Regions from separate parts of the Homo sapiens genome. Here all the other regions are linked to region 3. Evidence: promoter capture Hi-C in 16 types of primary human blood cells and fetal thymus (Javierre and others, 2016). All regions are on one chromosome and are shown on one strand. Each heading gives the region's core, a stretch centred on a gene start or on the middle of the fragment in contact. The rest is flanking DNA. Distances are from core to core; before and after follow the strand shown. Region 1 overlaps GARS1-DT (GARS1 divergent transcript). Region 2 holds the start of GGCT (gamma-glutamylcyclotransferase). Region 3 holds the start of SCRN1 (secernin 1). Region 4 overlaps GARS1 (glycyl-tRNA synthetase 1). Region 5 overlaps GARS1-DT (GARS1 divergent transcript).

Evidence for each region. Contacts are between HindIII fragments. The CHiCAGO score rates a contact against its expected background, and 5 or more counts as called.
Region 1: a contact is called between a fragment that was not itself captured here and the fragment with the promoter of SCRN1 in region 3, in 3 of 17 cell types (total B cells, neutrophils and naive B cells). The highest score is 6.6, in total B cells.
Region 2: a contact is called between the fragment with the promoter of GGCT here and the fragment with the promoter of SCRN1 in region 3, in 1 of 17 cell types (monocytes). The highest score is 6.0, in monocytes.
Region 4: a fragment that was not itself captured here is called in contact with the fragment with the promoter of SCRN1 in region 3 in 2 of 17 cell types (total B cells and naive B cells); the score reaches 8.7 in total B cells.
Region 5: a fragment that was not itself captured here is called in contact with the fragment with the promoter of SCRN1 in region 3 in 3 of 17 cell types (total B cells, naive B cells and neutrophils); the score reaches 10.1 in total B cells.

Annotation. Positions count from the first base shown.
Region 1 is chr7:30,555,767-30,559,419 of GRCh38, reverse strand. All of the region lies in intron 5 of GARS1-DT (GARS1 divergent transcript), which reads left to right. Among named protein-coding and RNA genes, the nearest start is that of GARS1-DT, 20 kb to the left of the region's middle. The HindIII fragment of the contact is 1,061 bases long and covers 1,665-2,725 here.
Region 2 is chr7:30,502,895-30,506,176 of GRCh38, reverse strand. GGCT (gamma-glutamylcyclotransferase) reads left to right here and starts at 1,348. Exons shown (of 4, transcript NM_024051.4): 1 at 1,348-1,608. The coding sequence starts at 1,468. RefSeq lists enhancers at 873-962, 382-1,260, 1,403-1,612, 1,261-2,140 and a silencer at 1,763-1,942. The HindIII fragment of the contact is 6,754 bases long and covers 1-3,282 here.
Region 3 is chr7:29,987,521-29,991,164 of GRCh38, reverse strand. SCRN1 (secernin 1) reads left to right here and starts at 1,364. Exons shown (of 8, transcript NM_014766.5): 1 at 1,364-1,523. FKBP14-AS1 (FKBP14 antisense RNA 1) reads right to left here and starts at 2,509. Exons shown (of 3, transcript NR_187577.1): 1 at 2,372-2,509. RefSeq lists silencers at 1,238-1,577, 1,598-1,647, 1,658-1,927, 2,018-2,137. The HindIII fragment of the contact is 11,019 bases long and covers 1-3,644 here.
Region 4 is chr7:30,609,046-30,612,636 of GRCh38, reverse strand. GARS1 (glycyl-tRNA synthetase 1) reads right to left here. Exons shown (of 17, transcript NM_002047.4): 7 at 2,907-3,052; 8 at 392-541. Among named protein-coding and RNA genes, the nearest start is that of GARS1, 16 kb to the right of the region's middle. The HindIII fragment of the contact is 3,439 bases long and covers 332-3,591 here.
Region 5 is chr7:30,573,172-30,576,466 of GRCh38, reverse strand. All of the region lies in intron 2 of GARS1-DT (GARS1 divergent transcript), which reads left to right. Among named protein-coding and RNA genes, the nearest start is that of GARS1-DT, 3.0 kb to the left of the region's middle. The HindIII fragment of the contact is 2,290 bases long and covers 705-2,994 here.

The DNA.
Region 1 (3,653 bases), core at 946-3,445, 570 kb before region 3:
AGAGATCTTGGTGGGGCAGATTAGAGAGTGATCAAGTTAGAGCTAACAGGACTTTTTTTTTTAGACTGGGTCTCGCTTGTTGCCCAGGCTGTAGTGCACTGGTGCAATCATGGCTCACTGCAGCCTTGACCTCCTGGATCAAGGTATCCTCCCACCTCTCAGCCTCCCAAGCAGCTGGGACTATGGGTGCATGCCACCACACCCAGCTAATTTTTGTATTTATGGAGATATGGGTCTCACCATGTTACCCAGGCTGGTCTTGAACTTCTGGGCTCAAGCCTTCTGCCTGCCCTGGCCTTCCAAAGCATTGGAATTACAGGCCTGAGCCACTGTGCTAGGCCAGAGCCAACAGGACTTACTGAGAAATTATCTGAGAGAGAGGGGTCAAGGAAGACTCCCCCTGTTCAACCAAGCAACGAGGTGAATGGTGCTGCTGCTTCCTGAGATGGGGAAGACTGTAGAGGAAACAAACCAGGAACGACAAATCAGTAATTTAGCTTTGAATACATTAGGTTTGAGATGGCTAGTCTGTACCCAAACAGACCACACTGTGGCATCTGGGCAGCAGGATCTGCAGAATCCAGCAGGATGGATGCTGATGCCAAGCTGAGTAGACAGTTGGGTCTGTGAGTCTAAAGCTCAGGGAAGACCTCAGGGTCTGGGATACAAATCTGGAGATCATCACCCTGTCCATGAAAGCCAAGGGAATGATGGAAGATACTATGAGAAAAAGTGAAGAGAGGAAAGAGAAGAGGTCCATGGAAGGAGACCTGGGAGAATCCAACCTTCGATTAGATCAGGAAGAGGAGAAGAATCCAGTAAAAAACTCTGAGAAGTCTCTGGGAAGGAAGTCTTCCTTCCTTCCCCTGTACCAGGAGAGGTGCTATCCCAGAAATTAGTAAAGAAACAGTTTTTGATGGGGAGAACAGGATCACCTTTGTCAACTGCTGCTGCGAGACTTGGAAAAATAAGGACTGGGAAGAGAGCAATAGAAACTTTGAAAGCCATTGGTTATCTTGATAAGAGTTGTTTCTGTGGGGGTGGTGAGAACTGGAGCCTGACTGGATGGGTTCAAGAGAGAATGGGGAGTTCTAGCCAAGAAGGCTGATGAGGATGAGTCAAATTAAAAATGTTTTCTTTTTATGAGTCCTCTCATATTTACTGATACAACTGATATATTGGGTCTCCATTCTGCCACATTACTTTATATTGATCATGTATTGTATCTGCTATGCAATTGTATTGCATGTATCTGCATGGCAATTGTATTGCCATGCAATGTATTTTTTTTTACTTTAAAAATTATATTTATAAAGGTTTGTAATTTTATTCCAGTGGTTATTTTATATGTACACTTTTTAAAATGCTCTTAATTTTTTTTTTAAGACAGGGTCTTGCTCTTTGCCCAGGCTGGAGTATAATGGCATGATCCTGGCTCATCAAAGCCTTGGCCTCCTGGGCTCAGTAAGTCCTCCCACCTCAGCCACCTGAGTAGCTGGGACTACAGTCATGTGCCACCACAACAAGCTAATTTTTTTGTATTTTTTGTAGAAATGGTGTCTCCCTGTGTTGCCCAGGATGGTCTCAGTCAGGCGATCCAGCGCACAAGCAATCCTCTCACCTCAGCCTCCCTTGGCTCTTACTCTTATTTTCTTGTTTAAGCTTTTACTATCTGGTTTATAAATACTGCAGTATTCTTCATCTCCCATCCATTGCTCATACAACAATCTAGGGGCATATTCCGTTTTTCTCTATTTCCCTTGTCCCATTTTTGAGTTGCACTATTTCCTTATCATCTCTTATCAGCTGAAGCTCATTCTCTAGTATACCGTCAGAAAACTTTTTATTTTTTGCAAGGGGCCAGATAGTAAATATGTTCAGTTTTGCAGGCATGCAATCTCTGCCACAGCTCTACCATTGTAGAGTATAAGCAGCCATAGACAATATGTAAACAAATGGGTATGGCTGTCTTCCAATAAAACTTTATTTGCAAAAACAGGTGGTGGGCCAGATTTGGCCTATAGGCTAAAGCCCTGTCTTAGAGTAGCAGCAGATAAGGAGACAGAAAAACTGTACAGGAGGTGAGAGAAAACTGGCAGGAGAGCTAGGGGGATATTGACAAAAGAGGAGCCCTTTAAATCTTCCAGGGGTAGAAAAAATGAAATTCTTTGATGTTACTCAATAGTTTACCTGCTCGGAAGGAGGAAAAGTGTCTCTTCCATCTCAGAGTTGGCTCAGCATCCATCCTGCTGGATTCTGCAGATCCTGCTGGCCAGATGCCACAGTGTGGTCAGCTGAAAGTGATTTGCTCATCCTGAAAACAGCAGGTATAGAAAGCGCTCTTTCAGCGCCATGGCAACCAGATCGTGTTTTTCTAAAAAAGGATCAGATCAGCGGGTGTGTCCCTCCAGGCATTGATCCATTAATATGCACTGAGCTCATTTCAGAGCCAGGCCCTGGGCTGAGTGCTTGGAATACAAAGATGCAAAAGGCTAAGTCCTTGTTTTTAAGGAGCTCATAGACTGGAGGAGGAGGCAGACATTTACAGTAAACAGTGTAATCACACGTCATCAAAGGAAGGGACACACAAAGGGCTGGGTGGGGAGCATCTCCTCCTCTTTGGGAGAAACTGACCTGGAGACCTAAGGTTGAGCTGAATTTTGGAGAATCAGTCAGAGTTGGTCAAGAGGACAAACTGGGATGGGTCAAGGAAAATGGAGAAGCTTGAGAGCTGTGGCAGCTCCGTGAAATGGCAAGTATGGCCAGAGGATGGCATCTCCAGGGTGCCGGAGATGGCCATGGAGAGGCACCGAGGCCAGGCCATGCCGGGCCTCTGCTGCCTCTGCTGTCACCAAGGTCAACCACAACCTAGTGCCCAAGCCAGTGGCATTTTCCAGCCTACTTTTACTCATCCCTTCTTTTAGAAAATGCTGCCTTGACAGTCTGATTTTCATGGTATCATGATCCGCTATCTCCTGATGTGTCCTCTGTACATCCAGCTGCTCTTTCTCACTCTCTTATTTGTGCTCTCACTTCCTTAAATTTTAACCTTCTTCTCGTGCTGCACTTTCTCCAGGTATATGAGAAACCTCTCCATTTTTCACTTTCATCTGTATTGCTCTTTGCCTGTTGGCCTCAATTTCTCCCACCACAAGATGAGCCCCTAAACGTATCTAAGAATGTGGCCTCAAGAACCCCAGTGTGGCAATCCCAGTGAAAAGCCTTTTCCCAGTACTCATCTTTCCATCCTGGGGAAGGCATGGGATTGCTTTTGGTTGGTTGTGTACCTACCCTGGCACACAGCACTATTATCAGAGTGATGGGCCAATACAATATATGGTGAGGGAAATGAGGTTCCATGATTGGCCCCATCAGTCACAAGGATGGAAAGGCAGTTTCCTAAGACAGATGTATCAGGCAGGAGAGAGGAGCTATACAATGTCAACAGGGAAAGTGTAATATAAATAATCATGAACTAATAATAGAGGGTTAGCCACTAAGGGATAAAAAGAAGTCTAAAGGTTACAGAAACAGGTGAATGGATAAACAAAATGAAATGTTATTCTGCCATAAAATGGAATGAAATTCTGATACATGCTACCCCATGGATAAACCTTGAAGACATTATGCAAAATGAAATAAGCCAGACTCAA
Region 2 (3,282 bases), core at 99-2,598, 520 kb before region 3:
TTTTGTAAAGAGAACTGTTTCCTCATCAACTGATGCTCGTCATCAGCTGTATTTCAGTTACCCCGAAATACAGCTGCTACTAGAAAGGCGGAATACCTGTTTGTTTTCTTAAATTATCACTTTGCAGAGTAAAGTTGGTGTAATAGTCACCACCAATAGTGTGGCAAATGAAGTTATAGTTTTTTTTTTAATTTGGATTACTCTTTGGGGGGAATGGCTTTTTTATGTTTAAAGTTTCCAATCATTTTTCAGTTTGCAGTCATTGTTATTTTTGATTCTCAAATTGTTCTAATTTTGGCCAGTGGGCAACTTCAGGCTGGTTCCCATGTCCTTTTAGAAGGACCTCGTTCGTCTTGAGAGGCGTCCTGAGCTTCTGACACAAGATGTTCCAAGTTGTCCTCATTCACTCCTAGCTCCTGACCTGGCATCAGTCATTTCTCGAAGGATCACTTGGTACCTTTTAGTGGGGGGTGGTATTTAGAGATTAATAGCTGGGTGTCAAGGATAGACAATGTTCCTATGCCCTTATGTTCATTCAAAAGTTAACAATATAGGTTTTAAAAAATACACCCAGGATGTGTGTGTGTGTGGGAGGGGGTAACCAAAACACAATATAGGGGTTTCTACTGTGACCCTAACTTATATTATGATCCCGATTTTTAAAAAGAGGAAACGGAGACCAGAGGTGCCCAAAGTTACTTGGCTAGTAAATGGCAGCGTCGGGATTTAAGCCCAGGCATGTAACTTCCATGTAACAGGGAAGGGAGTCCCAAGCATTCAGAGGGGCCGCTCCAGCAGGCGACGGGTCCGTGGAAAGGGGTCAGATTGATGACCAGTGCTGGGGGTGCCGGAACCAGCAGAAAGGGTGAACGGACCCGTCCTGCCCGACTCCTCTAGGCCAGGAAGGCAGGACCCGGCGAGCTGCCGGATGAGGGAGCCGTTGATGGAGTCGCCTGGGCCGCTGTTTCGCCTCAGATCTGACCAGAACTTCCTAAGGCACAGAAAGTACCAAAGAACCACACACAAGCACCCCAGAGCGAAGAAACCAGTCACGCGCCACGACCTTCAGCCAGTGTCCATGGGACCCGACCCGCCTGTGAGGAGTGCCTGTCCACCCCTCAATCAGAGGAAGCCTTGAGCAAGGAGGGGCGGGACATCAGTAGGTCGTGTCCAATGAGGAGCCAGCGCCGGATTGCTTCAGGACAGACTATTTCTGAGTCTCGGCGGAAGGCGGAGGGAAGGCCGTGGGGATGGCCAATCAAAGGGGGCGACTCAGGTCGGTGGGGACCGGCAGCCAATCAGGAGAGCGCTCGCTCCTGACTCGACCGGCCCACGCTTCCCGCCAGTCCCCTAACCCTGAGGCTGCCGCGCGGCGGTCACTGCGCCGGGGTAGTGGGCCCCAGTGTTGCGCTCTCTGGCCGTTCCTTACACTCTGCTTCAGGCTCCAGTGCAGGGGCGTAGTGGGATATGGCCAACTCGGGCTGCAAGGACGTCACGGGTCCAGATGAGGAGAGTTTTCTGTACTTTGCCTACGGCAGCAACCTGCTGACAGAGAGGATCCACCTCCGAAACCCCTCGGCGGCGTTCTTCTGTGTGGCCCGCCTGCAGGTGAGTGCCCCCTCCCGCGCTACCCACGCCGGGGCCGGGATGCCCAGAAGGCGCTTCCTCGGGGGCACACGTGGCCGATCGGGCCAGGAATGCAGTTCTTCTTGATGAGGGTACTAGGACGCGGCTTCCGCCTCCTGGGCGGGTCCACCTCCTCCGCTGCGCCCACTGCCCGGCCCTGCCCGGGCCACGGTGCCCTCTCGGGCTGCCTGGAGCTTTCCCCCTCCTGGCCTTTGCACCGGCTGCTCGGTCTGCACCGATTTGGCCTCTCGTCCACTAACTTAACAGATTGCATACAGTTGGTACTTCTGGAGAGTCTTCTCTGACCCGTGTCTGGGAATTGGTTGCCTTCTGTTCTGTACATAACCTTTGTTACAGCACTTCTCACCTGGCATTGTGAAAATCCGTTTACCTGCCTTTCGCTCCTCATCTAAGAGGTCCTGAAAGCTGGGACCATGTCTTATTTGTAATAATGCTGTGTTCAGTTAGGTCAAGGGGCTGCATGAACTATAACCAGTGTTGGTAAATCATTGCTCTTCAGCCCAGTCCATTCATTCATTTAGTACATATTCTTCCGGCACTTAACACTAAGGGTATAAACATGATTGAGTAAAGTGGCTGTTTCGAGGAACTCTCAGTCTGTAGGACAGAGGTGCAATAGATTATGTTCAAAACCTTTTTGACAGCGTCGAATGAGACAAACATGATCTCTGCTAACATCGTGAGTTCTTAGTTGCAAGCAACAGAAACTGGCTGATTTAAGCAAAAAAAAAAAAAAAAAAAAAAAAAAGAATGTGTTGAAAGGCTATTGGAGAGCTCACAGAATGACCAGGAAGGCAGGAGTACAAAGCTGACAAAACGGACAAGCATAAAGGGAGGCACAGCAACTGTAATACAGTGGGCATCACACAACAGAACCAGCCCACGGAGCCTCTTCCACGCCACTGCTGAACTTGGTAAACGTGGATGCTGTATTGTCCACCACCCCCTGCCCTGGACACTGCCTGCCTCTGTACATCCCTGCAGTTCCTGAAACCCAAATGTGTCAGCCTCTCTGGAGTCCCTGCTGTCTTGGGCACTAGCTTCTAATTGAAAGCCCCAGAATGTCCCGATTGGCTAAGTTTTGGCCACGTACCCATGCCGTGATTTTAAGCAAAACTGAGAGAACCAGCTTCTGGCCTTTGAAGCCTCAAAAATGGGAGTCAGGCTCTGATACTCCCTATTCCCAAACTCGTAAGGTAGGGAATTTCCCAACTGTAGGAAGGGAGTCCAAATGCTTACAGTCAGGGCAAGGGGAAGAGATATTAAACAAGGGATTATTCAGTTACAGGTATATGGTCCATCTTAAAAAGGAGGCATGCAAAGTGCAATGGGGCGTATGACCAGGGTACCTGACCTAACCAGGATGCTCAGGAAAGCCCTGCCTGAAAATGTGACTTTTAAGTTGAGACCTGAATGATTGTAGAGGTGGGGAGCACACAAAACAGGGAACAGCATCTTCTGCAAAGGACCTGAAGAAAGAGGAAGCTGGATCTTTCAGTCAGTGTGGCTGGAGTTTAGTAAGGGGAATGTGGCATGAAGACTGGAGATATGTGGAAGGGCCACATCTTCCAGGACCACAGAAGCCAAATAAGACACACTGCAGAACTAAAGCACATGAAAGATAGATTTCTATCT
Region 3 (3,644 bases), core at 115-2,614:
GTAAGCACAGGCTCAACATTCAAAGGGCATGGAAAAAAGTCTCCTTCTCTCCCCAGCACCCAGTCTCCCAGTTCTGCTCCCTGGTGGCATCTATTACAGGTTCTTACGTACTCTTCCAAAGATACTCTGTGCATTTACAAAAATAAGTACAGACATACATATATATTTTCTTCCCACAAATAACACACACAACGTTCTGCACCTAGCTTTTTATTTTTCTTTAGTTAGTATAGGTTGGAAATAGTTTTGTATTAGCAAATAAAGATCATTCTCCTTTTTAAAGGAAGCTGGATAGTAGAGGCAGGCGGATTGCCTAAGCTCAGGAGTTTGAGACCGGCCTGGGCAACATGGTGAAACCCCATCTCTACTAAAAATCAAAAAAAATTAGCGAGGCTGGTGGCGTGGGTCTGTAGTCTCAGCCACTTGGGAGGCTGAGGCACGAGAATCGCTTGAACCCGGGAGGCGGGAGGCGGGAGGCGGGAGGCAGGAGGCGGAGTTTGCAGTGAGCCGAGATCCTGCCACTGCATTCCAGACTGGGCGACAAAGCAAGACTCAAAATGTTTTGATTTTTGTTAATCTGGCTGGTGGAAGATGCTACCCCACATATTTGATTTGCAGTTAAGTGAGCCTGAATATCTTTTCGTGTGCCAGGATAGAATTGCATTTATTTTCCTCTGAATTACGTCTTCATATCTTTTGAGATAGTCTTTTCTTATTTACTTATAAAAGATGGAGTTGACGCTGGCATCAACACACACACACACACACACACACAGACACACAACACACAAGTCCCTGTACATAACTTTATTAACCCAGATATGGAATCTTGGCTTAGTTACGTGCTGTGTGACCTTGGGCAAGTTACTTAACCTCTCTAGGCCACAATGTCCAAGTACCTGGGACAGGGTCTGGCTTACCAACATGGTACAGGACGGCACTTTTAAAACCAGGGACTCGACTTGGACGTGCGAGTCAACAAGGTACAGGACACATTTCTCTCCGGGGAAATCTTGTGTGGGCGCCGAGGCCCGGACGTAGCAACCAAACGTCGGGAAGAGGCGCCAAAAGGATGCTGGGCCTGGCTCCTTGAAGCCCGGGTTTTCCCTTTTGAGAGCCACAACCAAGAAATAAAAATCTAGCAAAGAGGGGGCCACTTTCTGCGGCGAGATACGCCCTCTCGGCCGCTCCTCCAGCTCCCAGGCCCCCTCCCTACTCGACGGTGAGCAGCGCCGCGGCCCGTGCAGCCAGACGCGCGGGGTGCGGCGGGGCCCCGGGGGCCGGGGTGGGGGAGGCGGAGGGTGGGCCCGCGGTCACGTGAGTCGGGCCAGCTGCTGCGGGGGGCGGCGGGCCCCAGCGCCGGGAGTCTGGGTAGGGGGAAGCGCCCGGCGGCCGCCTCCGCCACTGCAGCTGCAGCCCCCGAGGTCGCCGCAGTAATCCGGACCCGGCAGCACCCGCACCCTCGGCGGCCGCAGCCTCAGCACCGCAGAGCGGAGAGCGGAGCCCGGAGCCCGCCGCCCCAGGTGAGCCGCGTCTGGGAGCGCAGGGCGTTTGCAGCGCTGCTTTCCCGGCGGTTTCACCCCACCCGCCATCGCCACCTCCTGCGTTTCATCTCCTCCCGCTGTCCCTCCGAACCCGCGGGTAGCGTTACCCCAGGCCGATTCCCGGTGCTGGCCCGGGCGGGCTGGGAGCCTGGGGGCGGTCAGAGGAGAGGTGGCCTCGGCCTGAAGCCGGGGTGACTCGGCTCGGGGACTGCGGGGGTGCAGTGGAGGGATGCCGGCCCCGGGCTCCCGCACCGCAGCCGGGTTCCCCGCGCTGCTCTTCCTGGGTTTCCTTTTCCTGGCAGCCAACCTGCTGCCCACTGGGATGTGCCTGTGGGCCCCTGGCCTCGCCACCCTGGGGTCTGGGGCGAGCCGGGCACCTTCCCCGAGGTGCCGTACCTGCTGCGCGGGCGGGCGCCGCGAACATGGCTGCCCGGAGACGCCCGCCGCCTTCGGCCCGGCTCTGCCAGCGCGTCCAACTCGCCCGCGGCCGCCGCACCGTGTCCCGGAGCAGCCCTCCCCGCTAGGCCGACGCGCGCGGGCCGCCCCTGGGTTCTCCGCGGGCCGCGCGTGGGACTTGACACAACTTCCCTCGAGCCGCACCCGGGCGTTCTCCGCGGGGCGCCGGGCGGGGCTGCCGAGAGGCCGGCTTGGTCGGCCTCTGCCTCCTCGGCTCGCTCTTGAGGCGTCGAGTATTTGGCGACCTCACTCGCGAGGGCCGAGAGAAATGTGGTCTGCAAAGCAGGAGGGGCGCTTGAACTTTAGAGAATTGGCGAGAACTCGGATTTGGGAATAAAAATGTCCATGAAAACATCGAAGGAAACTGTTACCTGCTTTGACTCAAAGCTGACCTTGTAGGGTTCTGTTAAATAACGTGGCTTTTCTGGATTTTCTGTCTGATTCTAGCATGCAAGTCCTTGACTTACGCTTGCGTCCGGCAGCCGGGTGGGGTGGGTGCGTGCGTGTGTGTGTGCGCGTGTGCGCGTGTTGTGTTCCCAGCCTGGTTAGAAGATGCATCAGTTGCGGAGGAAACCTATGCTAATTCAAAATGGCAGCATGAAAAATAGGCCAGGCGGAAGCAGCACAGACCACAACCATCAGCTGCCCCCTGACTTAAGCCTCAGGGAGGGAATTAGTGTGAGTCAAGGCTCATCCGGGTATGGAGTAGAGAGTGATTCTTGGAGCTGGCTAGATTTTAGGGTGCTGCAGGGTCCTGGGAGTTGTTAAGTGGGAAGTTTGGAGAGCTGTAATTATTTTTCCTAACTTATCAAAAGATGATACAAAACCTAGTTAAAACTCTACGGTTTTGTATGATTTTCTCCAGGCTCAACTAAAGTTGACTCTGTGGCTGCTGATGTCTTTTTGATGCACAACCTGGAGGTCGTTTGATACCTACAAGCTCTTAAAAGAGATGTGTGCACATTGTAAACATCATCCAAGAGCAGTGCACATAACAAATACCAGGTTCTTAGATCAAGTTTCATTGGAAGAACTGATTTAGCGACACGAGGAAGCACCCAGGCATGAGGAAATGGGAAATTCTTGAAAGGTGACTCATTTTAGAATTTTTTTTTTTTAAACAGCCTTTCTTTCCCTTTTCACTTCCGTGCTGCCAGCCATCTTGTCTTTTGGGAAGGAGATACATGAGGAGGCAAATGCTTCAGGGATAATGGAATAGAGGAGGATGAGCTAAGGTCGGGGGGCAGAGGTGGAGGCAGTCTTAAGGAGCCTGCTGTCAACCCCCTTTTTACAGCAGGAAGGCTGAGGCCAGCGGGGCGAATGGACGCCAAGATCATATATCTGGCTGTCAACTGGCAGTGAGAACCCAAATCCAGGTCTCATAACTCCCCCGGGTTCCACATGCTACCTTTTAGAGCCTGGGGGAGAACAGCAAGTCTGTCATTATTAGGAAGGCAAACACTTCGAGCAATGGGAAGCCAAACTGTAATATGAATTACAAAGTCTATAGGTGTTTAAAGTCAATGACAACACCTTAATTTCCTAATTCAAGACTTTTAACTTCTTAAGCTGTATCTACCTCATGTTCACATTTTCCAGTGGTGAAACTGTTTCTATAGTTAAGAACCAAAAACATTATTTTAG
Region 4 (3,591 bases), core at 802-3,301, 620 kb before region 3:
TCCTGCCACAACTTTCACCCTACCCCCACCCGACCCCACCCTTTTATACACATCACCATTGCCAGTATTGCCTTGGTTTAGACAATCAAGATATTACCATCCTCAAAATATACGATGAACAAGGAAAAAGGTAATTTTGGAGCAGGTGAGACTCTTAAGACAGTCTCCACCCTCCTTCCTTTCCCTTCAAGTTCACTTTTGTCACTCAAAACTGCCTGTCATCCTGGAGATTACATTTAGAGATTCCAAATGTAAAACATGATTTTTGGAGAAAACAAAAATAAATTCATAATCAGGATTATGAAGCAGAATTGCTTCAAAACAGCAAGCTTTCATTTTCAATGCAATGCCAAGGTCATTCACTAATTTGTAAGAGTAACCTGAGCAGTACCTGACTCTGATCAGTCCAGATCGAGGGGAGATCTCATTTCTAAAAGAATTTCCAATCTGGGCAGCAGCAAAAGGCAACTTTCCTTGGTTGAACTCCAAAAGTCGTTTGAAATTCAAGAAAATCCCCTGTGCAGTTTCTGGTCTCAAGTACCTATAAATTTAAGTAAGTCAGTCTGTTACAAAGAAAGAAATTATGTTTTCCAACAATCCTGAAATTCTAGATACAAATCCTAAAAGTCCTAAATATACCATTTTCACAACAAAGTTGAACAGGCCCTAAAATGAAGTTTTAGAAATATTTTCCTCGGTAGCAAACATTTTCATAGCACGTATTAGAAAATGTATTAAGTAATTAGTGTGGCAGTACTACTTTGGCAATGCCATTTCATTTAATTACACCAGTGAGTCAAAACCCCACTTCTCAAAAAGCAGAAATAAAAATAAATTTAAAAACACCACCTCAGGCCGCGCGCAGTCGCTCACACCTGTAATCCCAGCACTTTGGGAGGCTGAAGTGGGCGGATCACCTGAGGTTGGGAGTTCGAGATCAGCCTGACCAACATGGAGAAACCCTGTCTCTACTAAAAACACAAAATTAGCCAGGCGTGGTGGCACATGCCTGTAATCCCAGCTACTCAGGAGGCTGAGGCAAGAGAATCGCTTGAACCTGGGAGGCAGAGGTTGCAGTGAGCCGAGATCACGCCATTGCACTCCAGCCTGGGCAACAAGAGCGAAACTCCATCTCAAAACAAACAAACAAAAAACACCACCTCTCCCATAGTGCCCCTTAAACCCCTGATGTCTTCTAAGTCATCATGTACATGGAGGCAGATGACAATCTTAGGTCCTTTGGAAAATAATACCCATGCCTATGTTTAGCCCTGTTAACCCACATATTAAAACTTAACTGAGGGGCTAAAAAGAAATCAGTATAGGCTCACATTTAACATCAGCACTCACTTATCACTATCACCTCACCAAGCCAGGTAATTTTCAATGTTTTTCAAATCATTTTATTATCTGCAGTATTTTATATTTTCAACCAGAGGCTTCCGCATTTCTCTGTATTTTAAAGATATAGTCAAGCAAATACACTACTATAACCACTGCCCTCTCAATTTCCTAGAAGATATTCTGTGCAAAACATCCACTAAGGAAACGCTCCCAATGGCCTACTTCAGAATAAGTATTTTACTAAAATAACTTTAAAACCAAGGGCTAAAAACCCTAAAATTGTACCCTCTTCTTACTTAACAGACCAACTCTTTTGATTTTTATGGCCCTTTCCAGATTTCATCCAAATGTAAGTAAAGTTTATACATATATTTACAGTTAGTATGTATAAAATCATGTATTACCTATTTTATACTTCCCATTTTCTAAATAATGGCACAAATTTCTCACATTTAATAGTGACAGAATATTATCCCAAACTAATCCACTTTACCATAATTTGTTTAACCACTCTCAAATTACTGAATAGGTTATTTCTACTTTCAATTTATATACTTCTTCTAAGTATAATTTCCTTTCCTTCTGAATTATTTCCTTAGATCAATTCCCAGAAATGGAATGTCTGGGTCACAGGTTATGTCTCATTTTATGACTCTGTACATATGGCCAAAATGAAAGGCTTGCCACTGGCCTCTTTCCATGAAATATTCCAAATCAACCTGATGTCTCATTAGAATAATTAACTGCAACACATTTTGTCACAATTAATTTTTCTTATTCTTCAGTCCCTACTCTGGGAAACACGATCTATCTAGCTCATGTAGGAAAAACTTACTCTCTTACCCTATCATAGAAAAATATCTAAAGCTATGAAATGGAACACTGGCTAAGTCTGTTAAACAGTGGACAAGGAATCAGAAGATAAAGATTCCAATTCTGAATCATACTGTAAACTAACCAGATATTCTTTATCCATGAAAACCACATCTTTCAAATCAACAGGCTATACCTATGCTGTCCAATATGGTAGGACACCAGGCAGATGTCTATTTAAATTTCAATTAAGATGAAATAAATTTTAAAATTCAGTGCCTCAGAAGAACTGGACCCATTATGAGTGCTCAAGAGCCAAATGTGGCTGGTAGCTAATCATACTGGACAACACACATTACAGAACATTTCCATCACTGCAGAAAGTTCCGTTGGACAGTAGCATGCTAAACTAAATGGTTTCTAAAATATCCTTCAGCAATAAGTTCAACGGCTTTTAAAACCATTCTTCAACTGTCCCTTCTACCCTATGCAGCTATAACTAGAAGATATAGTGATCAGAGACTTTATTTTATGCCAAAAAAATACATATATGCCAAAAAAGAAATTATATTCAGAAAGAATTTTTTAAAAGATTTATTTCTGCCATTATTTCTCCATAATACATTCATCTGTACTTCTGTATATCACTTTTTAAAAATTTTTCCTTCATAACATTGATATTTACCTTTTAATATAAGCAATTTTAAAAACTTCATTACATAAACAGGTAAACAATAAGTGATACATACCCAGGCATGTTTCCTCCAGGCCCAATGAAAGTCTTGAACATTAAGTTAAAAGACACTGGAGGGGATAGATCATTTCCAGTAATGGGAGATTTTACATTATAGTTCACAAAAAGATCCGCAAGTTCTTGCTGTCCATAGTTATCAAGCTAAAAGACATATAAAGAAATTAGTGTAAAAGACAGAGAAAACAAGGCATAAGATATAAAGTATTATATATAACCCTAGCCATCCACTGCTACAATCACACAAAATTCAGGAACATCACAATTAACCTAACCTTCAGGACACCCACATTAAAACCATAACCAATTTATTCACTTTCCATTTATCAAGAGAGAAAAAAATATCCTTCTGGGACCTAAAACTCATATAGTCACTGTTTCAAAGTGAAAGATAAAGCAAAATACCTCTTATTCAATTATAATAGTTATTGGTTGGCAAGAATCTGAAATTACCTAAATAAGTTTTCAAAGCTGAATTTTACTACTCTGAACATATTTAAGGTGCATTTCTGCATTTCTCTGTATTTTAAAGATCCAGTCAAGCAAATATACTATTAATAGCCACCACCCTCTCCTCAATGGAGTAATTAAATGTGCATTGAACTTTCCTTTCCCATTAGATATTAAGCGCCTAGAAGACAGAAGCTGTATCTTATTCACCTCAGCATTTTCCAGTGTATTGC
Region 5 (3,295 bases), core at 600-3,099, 580 kb before region 3:
ATAGTTAATATATAATTCTGTATACAAAATATGCCAAAAAATGTGTTATTGGTGAGAAAGAATTATTTTGTGTAGTTTGGAGGTTATCTGAAAGTTAATTCAAATTATGGACTTTAAAAAAAAGAGTTATTTATGAAACAAGGTAGTAAGGAACCAGTAAGTAGGGGAGAGATGTGAAGAAAGTTATATATATGAAGATATGTTTTTGTGAGGGAAGATTGTAGAGATGGTGGCTTTGTAGGAGAAAAGATCTTGTACGATAAATTCTTGTCCTAACGTAAAATGACTGGTTGTTTAAAAAGAAAGATGTTTAGGAAAACTCAGAAAGTCCAAGCATTTTGTAGATGGTCTGGGTAAGTTATGAAAAGAATTCATGTAAGAAAAGGATAATGTACCTTTGGTAAAAAGCATGGGAATGTGGATTTCTTGCCTAAGTTTAGAGGGTGAAAGGATGGTTTTAAGTGAGATAGGAATAATCTAAAAGGTTTGAACAAGTTGTGGAAGGCTTATGAAAAATTAATTGTAAAAGAGATTCTGTGTGTGAACATATTGGCTAAAGTTAAAGGGGAAGACTGGCAATTAGACTTCACCCATATGCCAGTGTGCAAAGTATACAAGTTTTTGGTAGTAGTAATAGATACTTTTACTGGCTGGGTTGAAGCTTGCTCTATGAGAACAAAGAAGGCTCATGAAGTTGCTAAGCTTCTTTTAAAGGAAATAAATCCCCTAGTTTGGGTTACCCCAAAGCCTCTAAAGTGATAAAGACCCATCTTTTAGAACTCAAGGGGCTGCTAAGGCTCTCAGAATCAAAAATTATTTACATGGGAAAGTAGAAAGGGCTAATCAAGCTCTTAAAATGGGTGTTAGCTAAGCTATGTTAGAAAACATCAGAAATTTGGGTCAGCTTATTGCCTGTAGCCCTCTTAAGAACCCTTAATTCTCCTAGAGCAAAAATTAATATGAGCTCATATGAAATGTTATACAGAAGGCCATTTTTTTTTGAGATGGAGTTTTGCTCTTGTCACCCAGGCTGGAGTGCAATGGCACAGTCTTGGCTCACTGCAACCTCTGCCTCCCTGGTTCAAGCAATTCTCCTGCCTCAGCCTCCTGAGTAGCTGGGATTACAGGCATGTGCCACCATGCCTGACTAGTTTTTGTATTTTTAGTAGAGACAGGGTTTCATCATGTTGGCCAGGCTGGTCTTGACCTCCTGACCTCAGGTGATTCGCCTGCCTCAACCTCCCAAAATGCTGGGATTACAGGCATGAACCACCGCTCCTGGCTGGCCATTTTTAAATAATGATCTAATTACTGATCCAGAAACAGCCAGTTTAGTAACATGCGTAATTAACCTGGGACAATTTCAGCAGGCTTTACAAAAGTTTAGAACTCAAAGACTCCCCACACCAGGAACTAACCAGCAACCCAAAATCAGGCCAGGAGATAAAGTACTTGTTAAAACATGGAAGGAGGGATCACCTGCTGAACAATTACAACCCAAATGGAAGGGACTATTTTCAGTGGTACTGGCCATGCCTTCTCCAGTCAAAGTACTGGGAATAGTTAGTTGGATATGTCTTTCCAGGGTCCAGCCTGCAATAACTGAAGCCCCCAGACCTGGAACCTGAAGATCCCATCAGCCACTAAACCTGTGAACCTGTAGAAGACCTGAAGTACCTGTTTAAAAGGCAGCCAAAAGATAAGTAAATTCCTATCAACTTTCCTTGGTGTCCTTCTTGTATATTTACTGTAAGCTGGATATAATAGTAGCCATTTTTATATTTTTACAATTTAATTGCTTTCTTCCAAATGGATTGAATCACTTCTTTTAAAGTGTTTTAATTAATTTTTATCTATAGAACAAAATAACAAATAAGTATTTTTTTTTTATACCATAATGGTCACCCACAGCCTGTGTATACTAAGACCATGCATACTGATAATCAGCTTTATTTTACAAAAGAGTTTCGCTTTACCCCTCTGGTAATTAATGGATTCTGGGTATTTATTAAAAACTTTAACACAAAGACTGTTAAATACCACCAGTCCAGCTTTGGCAAGGCACTGTTGGCTTTGTTTATCTCCATCATCATCCAAACAGACTACCAATCCTGATCCCAGCCCAATCTTGGGCCCTTGAAAAAATAACTTAACATCCTAACTACAAGGGAGAAACTCCTTTCAAATTAATGAACCTGGCTGACTTATATAGCCTTAAAATTATGGAAATGACAAGGGTTACAATGTCAGAATGAGCAGTAAACCTTCCCCAGTCCTATCAGAGCAAACTTTCTGGGGTTGCATCCCCTCAGAAACCCATTTGGGGCCCAATCTCAATGCACATATCAGTGCGCAAAGCACTAAAATTCCAGGCAACACTTTGTATTGAGAGAAGCCAAAATTTTGGTCCCGCCCTGGGACATCTAAAGTCACCAATGTAACTACACCATACAGATTAAACCCTCACATGATCATGTAAGCTATGCAGTTACCCAAGCTGCATCATTTAGAAAACCTGTACAGTTTTTATGGAAACCATCCCTAGTCAAGGACACTTTAAATATATAGTCTAAATACCGTTAAGGTAGGCCCACTAGCTGTGTTCACATTTTCCCTTGGCCACCTTACCAGGGACTTTAATAACTTGGGAAAGTGAAAACAACAAGCTAACCCACATGTTCACCATAGAAAACAATTTTGTCTTGAAAAACAAGGACTCTTTTTCCCGTGTGGGACCAGTTCCTACTTATGTTTTACCAGCCAATTGGACTGGAACCTATACAGTTGTTTATTTAGCCCCCGAAATTAATATAGCTCCCAACAACCAATCCTTCATTATACTTTTAACTGCAACCACCAGACACAAATGAGCCATCCAACTGATACCACTTTCGGTAGAGCTAGGAATAACAGCAGGAGTAGGAATGAGAGTTAGCAGCCTTGCAGTTTCCCTATCCTATTACCAATGCTTGTCCAAGGATTTTATGGAAAGCTTAGGTGACATTGCCCAAAAGTATCATCACCTTACAAAATCAGATAGAGTCTTTGGCAGTGGTGGCTTTGTAAAATAGAAGGGGACTGGATCTCCTAAATGCTGAAGAAGGTGGCTTATGTCTTTTTCCTAGAGGAAGAATGCTGTTTTTATGTCAACCAAACAGGATTAGTAAGGGATGCCACCCAAAAACTAGCCGATTGGTACCATAAGATATGACAACAGCTGTCTGAGTCATGGGGCGCCTAGTCAAAATGCTAATTTGGGGCTCACATCTCCTTCCTCTGGCCAGTCCACTATTAA